Linked DNA regions of Homo sapiens: all the other regions are linked to region 2. The links are contacts of gene promoters, found by promoter capture Hi-C in blood cells and fetal thymus (Javierre and others, 2016). All regions are on one chromosome and are shown on one strand. Each heading gives the region's core, a stretch centred on a gene start or on the middle of the fragment in contact. The rest is flanking DNA. Distances are from core to core; before and after follow the strand shown.

Evidence for each region. The method cuts DNA at HindIII sites, captures the fragments that hold promoters and counts their contacts. A CHiCAGO score of 5 or more calls a contact.
Region 1: a fragment that was not itself captured here is called in contact with the fragment with the promoter of VIPR1-AS1 in region 2 in 1 of 17 cell types (M2 macrophages); the score reaches 5.1 in M2 macrophages.
Region 3: a fragment that was not itself captured here is called in contact with the fragment with the promoter of VIPR1-AS1 in region 2 in 2 of 17 cell types (M2 macrophages and endothelial precursors); the score reaches 8.3 in M2 macrophages.

What each region holds. Positions count from the first base shown.
Region 1 is chr3:42,198,889-42,201,833 of GRCh38, forward strand. TRAK1 (trafficking kinesin protein 1) reads left to right here. Exons shown (of 16, transcript NM_001042646.3): 11 at 289-365; 12 at 1,930-2,166. Among named protein-coding and RNA genes, the nearest start is that of CCK, 66 kb to the right of the region's middle. The HindIII fragment of the contact is 673 bases long and covers 972-1,644 here.
Region 2 is chr3:42,531,345-42,534,082 of GRCh38, forward strand. It overlaps VIPR1-AS1 (VIPR1 antisense RNA 1), which reads right to left and starts at 1,262. Exons shown (of 3, transcript NR_046654.1): 1 at 1,220-1,262; 2 at 677-751. It overlaps VIPR1 (vasoactive intestinal peptide receptor 1), which reads left to right. Exons shown (of 13, transcript NM_004624.4): 8 at 127-187; 9 at 459-525; 10 at 898-989. RefSeq lists an enhancer at 2,035-2,536. The HindIII fragment of the contact is 10,773 bases long and covers 1-2,738 here.
Region 3 is chr3:42,259,997-42,262,744 of GRCh38, forward strand. All of the region lies in intron 4 of CCK (cholecystokinin), which reads right to left. Among named protein-coding and RNA genes, the nearest start is that of CCK, 4.8 kb to the right of the region's middle. The HindIII fragment of the contact is 799 bases long and covers 1,070-1,868 here.

The DNA.
Region 1 (2,945 bases), core at 58-2,557, 330 kb before region 2:
GGTTTGGCCAACGGAGCATAGGGTTTGCTTTTAGACACCTAATGGCATATGAGTCAGCAGCTTTACACTCAGTGCCCAGTGGCACTGCCACACTCAGAACCTGCCTGGGAAACTGCTCAGCCAGGGTCTCTGACAACAGAGAGTGCTGTTAAGTTTGTGTTGTGGGAAGACCGTGAGCTTCTGATGCCTTGGTTTACTCTCCATGGCCCACCTGGGTGCATACCTCTTTTAGAGACAGAGCATTTGAATTGGCGCTCACTTGACATTTGTCTTTCTGGCTTTTCCCAGGATTCCTTGGCAGCAGAGATTGAGGGAACGATGCGCAAGGAGCTGCAGTTGGAAGAGGCCGAGTCTCCAGACATCACGTACGGCCACAGTTTTTACAGTTTTGAGATTCCCAGAGACCAACTTGGACCAGTGCAGTGTTCAAAACCTAGCAATGTTGAGGCTCTGGGTACCGACAGTGATTGACTATTGTCCTTCCCAGTCCAGATTAAGGGAAATAATAGAACACAGCTGACAGCATCCCTCAGCTCCTCTTATTATCTTTTGTTAGTGTTAATTTTTATTTATTTATTTTTTAGAGATGGGGTGTCTCACTTTATTGGGCACGCCAGAGTGCAGTGGTGTGATCATAGCTCACTGCAGCCTCGAACTCCTAGGCTCAAGTAATACTGCTGCCTCAGCCTCTTGAGTAGCTAGGACTACAGGCGCATGCCACCATTTCCAGCTAATTTAAAAAAATCTTTTGTAGACATAGGGCTTCACCATGTTGCTCAGGCTGATCTCAAACTCCTGGCTTCAAGTGATCGTCCTGCCTTGGCCTTCCCAAAGTGTTGGGATTACAGGCGTGAGCCACCACTGGCCTGTGAGCCACTGTGCTCCTCTTCTTCTTAGGTTTTAAAGACAAATTGTGAACTTCCAGAAAGTCCTAGAAAAGGAGAGATGTCTTTCCCATCTCTCTTAACACAAGCTTTGTCTTGATATAGCTACACGTTTTTATCTTTCCTTTCAGTGGAAAACATTTAAAAAATTTAAAATCAACGTAGTGTGAGATTCAGAGGGGTCTTCAAAGATTTTGTGCAAGGCTTCCATCTCCATCTGAATACACCTAGGGATATGAGCTTCTACCATCTGTCTTCCTACCTCAACTCTTGTACTTAACCTGCCCCAAGGTGTTTGTAAGGAACATGTGGACCAGGTTTCATTGTGTTTTCTGTGTACTCAGACTCCATAGACAGAACTTAAATGAGATCCTGGGAGTGGCAAGTGTCCAAGTGAGGTTTGGTATATGTGTGACACCCTCTGCAGCCCAGAAGGAAGTGGCCATTGTAAAAACATGCCTACCCTTTTCTCTTTAAAAGGGAACAAATGAGCATCAAAGTGGTTCTGCTCCTAAAATAACACTTTCCAAAATTAGACAAATCTAGTATTTATCATCTTATTATAGAAGTGAAAGACTAACTTGAAGTCTTCCTTTTTTTATATGAATGTTCAACAAATATCCATTCTACAAGTATTGATTGATTTCTGCTGCGCTGAGCAGTAAACACTGCCCTGCTGCAGCGTTTATTCTAGTGAATATTATGAAAAAAGAAATCTAGGAGACAAAAGTCATACTTAAGTATTTTTATTTGTGGGTTAAGCTTTAGGGATGTGAAACACAATTTCACTCTTGCTGGCATCACCTTTAGGATACAACCATGCGTTCGAGTCCTGGGTTTAGTGGGTGTTGAATCTCTCAAATTTCGCATTGTGAAGGAGGCAGCCAATACCCTAAGAAACAGGTGGCAGGCACAGGATAGCAGGCTGCTGGGGGACTCGTCATAGGCCAGGTGCCCTTTTGGCTCAGTTGATCATTTTTGGAGGGTTAAACTCCAGGGTTGTGCCCGCATTTGCTCACTCACGGATGCCGTGCATTCTCCCTAGTCACCAGAAGCGTGTCTTTGAGACAGTAAGAAACATCAACCAGGTTGTCAAGCAGAGATCTCTGACCCCTTCTCCCATGAACATCCCCGGCTCCAACCAGTCCTCGGCCATGAACTCCCTCCTGTCCAGCTGCGTCAGCACCCCCCGGTCCAGCTTCTACGGCAGCGACATAGGCAACGTCGTCCTCGACAACAAGACCAACAGCATCATTCTGGAAACAGAGGCAGCCGACCTGGGGTGAGCAAGCTGGGAGTTTTCACTTCTCTGTTTTGGGGTGAGGAGTGGTAGTATGGATTGTCTGCAGGCTCAGTAATTATTAAGAGGGAGGTAGATGAGAGTCACCTGAAAAATACAGACCTGGCCGGGCGTGGTGGCTCGCGCCTATAATCCTAGCACTTTCGGAGACCGAGGCGGGAGGATTGCCTGAGCTCAGGAGTTTGAGACCAGCCTGGGCAACATTGCAAAATCCCATGTCTACTAAACATACAAAAAATTAGCTGGGCATGGTGGCATGCACCTGTAATCTCAGCTACTCAGGAGGCTGAGGCAGGAGAATCGCTTGAACCCGGGAGGTGGAGGTTGCAGCAAGCTGATAATTGCACCACTGCACTCCTGTCTGGGTGACAGAGTGAGACTCTGTCTCAAAAAAAAAAAGCGGACCTTACAGTTCTCCAAATCTGTTCTGCTTACCCACTTGAGCCTATGCCTATCCTTGATATGATATTTTAATCAGCTTAAAGATGTATAACAAGATGATACCAGAAAGTCTGCTTTCCTGTGAAATGCTTGGGGGAAGGATTAATGAATATTTTTTTTTTTGTTAATCTTCACGGTAAGGCTACAGAATAGACATTTGTTTTGTGACCGTTTTGTAGCTTGATGTTGGAAAGGCTGAGGAGGACTCAGGCTGTCTGTCTTGTGACCAGAATGTGGTCACAAGGTTCAGAGGGTGGGGTGCAGGGGGGCCAAGGTGCCCAGGACTGGGCTTTCCTCAGGAATGGTCAGTTCCTCTTTGT
Region 2 (2,738 bases), core at 12-2,511:
AGACTGACAACCCACCCTTTTCTCTCTCCCTCCCTCTCCCTGCTTTTCTCCAAAATCTCTCCCTCATGCCCTCTACCCCTGCTTCCTGTGCCCTCTCTGCTCTTTCACTCTCCCTGGGCCTGACAGGGGTACCCAGCACATTCACCATGGTGTGGACCATCGCCAGGATCCATTTTGAGGATTATGGGTGAGCTGCTGCCCCACACACTCCCCCGGCCGCCATCACTTGGGCAGGCCCCCTGGGTGGGATGATAATGCCATCTGGCCTTGGTGAGTGGACAAAAACCACAGCTCTCGGGCCAGAGGGGAGGCTGGAGGAGGACCTGGGGAGCAACAGACTCTGGGCCCGGGGTTGCTAAAGTGCTCAGGAGCAGAGCTGGGGACAACTGGGGGAGGTGCTGCTGAGTCTCTCTCTGGCTGAGGACAATCCCTCTCATTCCTCCCCACGGTCTGCTCAGGTGCTGGGACACCATCAACTCCTCACTGTGGTGGATCATAAAGGGCCCCATCCTCACCTCCATCTTGGTAAGATACCCTCCCACCACCTAGAGATGGGGAAACAGGCCCAAAGGGCAGGCAACTTAGCCCAAGGTCACATGGGAAATTAGTATCTAGGTCAGAACTGAAACGTAGCTTCCTAATGCCCAATGCAGGATCATCCCCACCCCTGTCCTACCAGTTCTTCCTTGAGCGTAAGCGGATTGGGAGCACAGTCCTTAGGGATTTGAAGGAGGTAGAGTTCCCGGATGACCTGCCCAAAGGGGAAATGCCAGAGGAGAGGTAAGATAGAGAGAGGGGCAGCAGGACCCTGGGAAAGAAGACAGGCCAGCAGTCAAGGGGCCTGAACACCTCAGCCTTCCCGCTCTGACTGCCCGAACTCGGGTCCCCACCCACTAGGTAAACTTCATCCTGTTTATTTGCATCATCCGAATCCTGCTTCAGAAACTGCGGCCCCCAGATATCAGGAAGAGTGACAGCAGTCCATACTCGTGAGTGTGGGCCTAGTGCCTCAGCCCCCAGTACCTCCATCCCCAGTCCTCAAATCATCCCACATCTCCTTGAAGTCCTCCCACCCCAAACATCCAGAGTCACCAAAGAGCCACATTGTTCTTTCCCACCTCCACCATGGCCTGGCTCAGCCCACCACCATCCCCTGCTCCAGCCCCACCCTCACCAGGCTGCACTCAGAGCCCTGCATGCTTCTCCTGCCCACACTCACCTAGCATCCTTCCCAGGTATGCATCTGCTGCCAAGCCAGGGAGCTCAAGAGGACACCGATGACCTGTGTCTTGTTCATACCATGTGCCCAGTCCCTGGCATGTGCCTCACATGGAAAAAGGGTGCAATAAACACATAGTAGATGAATGCCCTGGGGGAGACCCCAGTCCACCAATGAGACAGCCATGTTCGGGACTCAGTATTCCTCAGTAATAATGATGACACCTGCAGTTTACATGCCAGGCACACGCTAAGGGATTTCCATGCATCATGTCATTTCATCCACACAGTCCCCTGCAAAATTATCTTTACTTTACAGGGAGGAAATGACATACACTCCCTTCTCCTTGAGGGTTTTGGAGCAGGTCACCATGGGCAGGGAGAAGGGGGCACAATGTCCATGGACCAGGGCTTGGAAAGGTGTCAGGACTGTTCCCCCTGCTTGGGAGGACTGGAGGAAGAGGCAGGTTTTTTTGCGGGAGCAACAAGGCTTGAAGACAGAGCTAAAGAAACATGAAAAATATGAAAAGGGAGGCTGTGGGAAGGCAAGTAGGGTCTGCATGCTCACAGATGGGAGTAGGAGATTGAGTATCAGTGCTATTGACACAAGACAAACCTGGGACGTCCCACAAGGCCTTCCAGTCCTGGGATTCTTCTTGGCCTGGCTTCTCTTTGGAGAGTCTGTGCTGTGGTTCTAAGATTCCTGGCTAGAATGTCACAGACTGCTGGATTTAGGATTCTATTCTGGAATCCTGTGATTCTCCCTGATGAGACTAAGACTCACATTCCTGGTGTGACTGCATTCTCTCCTGCCAGGTGTGTAGGCGGAGCTTCCCTTCCTGTCTGAGAAGGAAAGGCTGGGGGGGACGGGGGGGGCATCTGCAGTCTGCTGAGGGGCAGCACATCGGGCCTGTGCACCCTTATCCTCTCCTTTGCCGATGGGACCTTATTTCCCCCAACTTACAATGGTTCAAAAGGGCCTGAATCTGAGGCAAACAGAGCTGGCCATGGTCAGGGCCAGGTCTGTGTGGTGAGACAGAAAGGAAACAGTTGTCAGCAGGCAAAAGGGGTGGGGGCAGTTGGAGATGAAGCTCCTCAAGGAGAAGCTGTCAGCTCCCACTCTACACCTCCCCATAAGCCTTTGATTTAAAGAAAGCCTCCATCTGTTAGCCTCCGGTGTGTGGGATAGTTTTGCAGCCGAAGAGGGGTGGGCATTGCTCAGGATCTTGGCATGGCTGAGAACCAGGTCCAGGAAGGAGTGGGAGGGGCAAGGCCAGCTCCTCTGCCCCCAGCTTGCTGTGGGACCTCAGGCCTTGGGCTAGACTTCCTTGGACTGACTGCTAAGGCAGGAGAGACAGAGTCAGAGACCCTCCCTATCCACACCCCACCTCTCCTAGCCAGGGAGCAATGGGTTCACACTGCCTGGATCAGCTATGAGGTCAGGTGGCTGGGAGGCCTGAACCAGGAAGAGCTCTGGGCCATGGGAGGCGGGTGAGCATTTAGAATGAATGCTGACCCTA
Region 3 (2,748 bases), core at 219-2,718, 270 kb before region 2:
CCATAGGCTGAGTAGAGTCAGACTATGGCTTATGTGTTGATAAATGAAAATGCAAAGGCAGTTACCCTGGGTAATGAAATTAAGCAAGTTTAATTAAAAACAGAAACAACACAGAACAACGTCCCCACCCTTTCTCTCCCCAACCCCAACCCTTCCCAGTTTTGGAACCAACAGTCAATTCAGCACATTTCAGGTCTTTTTGCAGATATCCTCAGCCTACGTAGAAGAAAAATAGCCCCTGCTATTTAATTGTTCATCATTCAGGTGAAATATTACCCTTGAATTCAGGAAAACCTATAGACCCAGTTACCTGTACACAGTCACATGGAAACATGACCCATCCTTCTGCCTGCTGTGATGATGAGTGCCCACTCTAAGGCCTGGGCACAACCCAAATTTCCATCTAATGGAAGCAAGGTGACAGCTTCAATACGAGCAAGCAGCCTCAGTTAACGGTGGGGGCACCATGTTCAGTCATGGAAGCTGCATTTATCACACACCCTGACTTCCCCGTTCCACGTACAGTTCTGTCCTCATGTCATGTGTATTTACCAGGGTCCTCACTCACTTTCCCAGTGCTGACATAGAGTAGGGGCTTACATCTGATGTATGGAATTGATCAAAGCCTGATTCCTATGGGCCACAAGAGATGGACGGGCCTCCCTCTGAATCACACAAAGAATTGGAAGGGGCTTATTGGAAAGCTAGCCTCGGGACTGTCTGCATGTCACTCAGCTAGTGGGCTGCTGAATCACCTTATTCCTGGAGAAAGACTTTGGTGCTGAGAAAACAGTGACTTTCTTAGCTCTTGCTAAAACTGAAGGGTTTAGCTCTTTTAAACTTTAAAATGTGGAATAGGCAGTACAGCTAGGAAGCTGAATGGCTTCCAGGCCCTCCTGGGGGGAGCAGGACTAGATAGAGTCTCAGCCCTGCTGTTGCGTAGATATGCAACTGCATGTAGGTTACTCAGGCTTTTAGAGCCCCAGCTTCCACACTGGCAAAATGGGTATAATAATATTCACTGTGCAGGGCTGTTGTACTGAGAAAGACAATATAGATGTAGCATTGAAGCTTTGCTGGGCATGGGGGAGGCGCACACTAAATGCCTCTAGATATCTTTACCCACTGCCCTCCAATAGAATTGTTTCTTCTTGGGCCATTGAAAGTGCTGCAGATATTTCCTAATGATAAACTCTTAAGTACTGCTCAAAGAATGCATTGTCTTGTTTAGAACTTTTAAGAATAATATATACTATAGTGGAGCAAAAATCTGATATGATCTCAAAATATGTAAAATATTCAAAATATGTAAAATATTCTATATACTGCACATATAGAAACTGTGCAGTATCTATATGTGTAAGTATTTAGTCCTAGTTCATGTTTGTCACATAGAAGAGTTTGCTTGTTTTTTAGCTAGAGTTGATCCTAGGTGTTGGCATCTAAATTTCCAAGTGATTGCTATTCCCTCCTGGGTTTGTTTGGCACAATTGGCTGAAGGCAAAGGGAGAGGGGGGCTGAGAAGAGGGACTAGAAAGAACTTTCCAGCTAAGATTTATGCTATAAGAGCCATTGTCTAGTATTGGTTCTAGGAAATAATTTGGTAATGAGCTTTTTTTTTTTTCTTTTTTTTCCCTAGAGCAATTTTGGAACCAAGACTCAATTCGGCACATTTCAGGCCTTTTTGCAGATATCCTCAGCCTACATAGAAGAAAAACCAGGGTCTTTCCTAAATTGGAGGAGGGGAGTCCAGGTCCACAGTTAAATGAAAAGCCTAGGATATTTCAGACTGGTCTGGCTGAAATTCAGCCTGTATCTGGGGACAGATACTAAATTATTTTCAGGCAGAGAATCAGCAGGAACTCAAAAGCTTTCAGACTTTCTCTCTCCATCTGAGAAGTATTTCTATCTTTTTCAATTTAATTAGCAGGAAAGCAAAACACAAGGTGGTGGGTGGGGCAATTTCCCAAAGACAGGAAGAAATACAACAAATCACTGATTTGTTCTTTCCTTCTGAAGCCTCTGGGTCAGAGTTCCAGTCTTCCCTTCATGTGAACCCACAGAAGAACTCTGCAGAGCCAAAACTCTTCATCTTATCCCTCTCTGGTCAAGCCAGGGGTTAAGGTTCAAATCCAGGCCCTGGAACACCAGTTGGGTAAGAGAGCTTCATGGAAAAGGCAACACACCTACCACATCCCTTCCAGCAGTGTTTGCTAAGTTCTTTTTTTTTTTTTTTTTTTTTTTAGACAGTTTCACTCTTGTTGCTCAGGCCAGAGTGCAATGGCACAATCTCGGCTCACTGCAACCTCCACCTCCCGAGTTCAAGCTACTCTCCTGCTTCAGCCTCCCGTGTAGCTGGGATTACAAGCATGTGCCACCATGCCCAGCTAATTTTGTATTTTTAGTAGAGATGGGGTTTCACCATGTTGGTCAGGCTGGTCTCGAACTCCTGACCTCATGTGATCCACCTGCCTCAGCCCCCCAAAGTGCTGGGATTACAGGTGTGAGCCACTGCTCCTGGCCTGCTGAATTCTTTTAATGTCCAGCTGTGTTTGTACTGTTCAGCACACTGCTCCACAGCCGGTGTTCATCATTAGTGTCACTGGGGATAAAGTTGGCAGAAAAAAGCTGCCCCAATCCAAAGCATGATTCCTATGGGTCACAAGAGATGAATGGGCCTCCCTCTGAATCACACAAAGAATTGGAAGGAGCTTAGGGGAAAGCTAGCCTCAGGTCAGAATTGCCTGC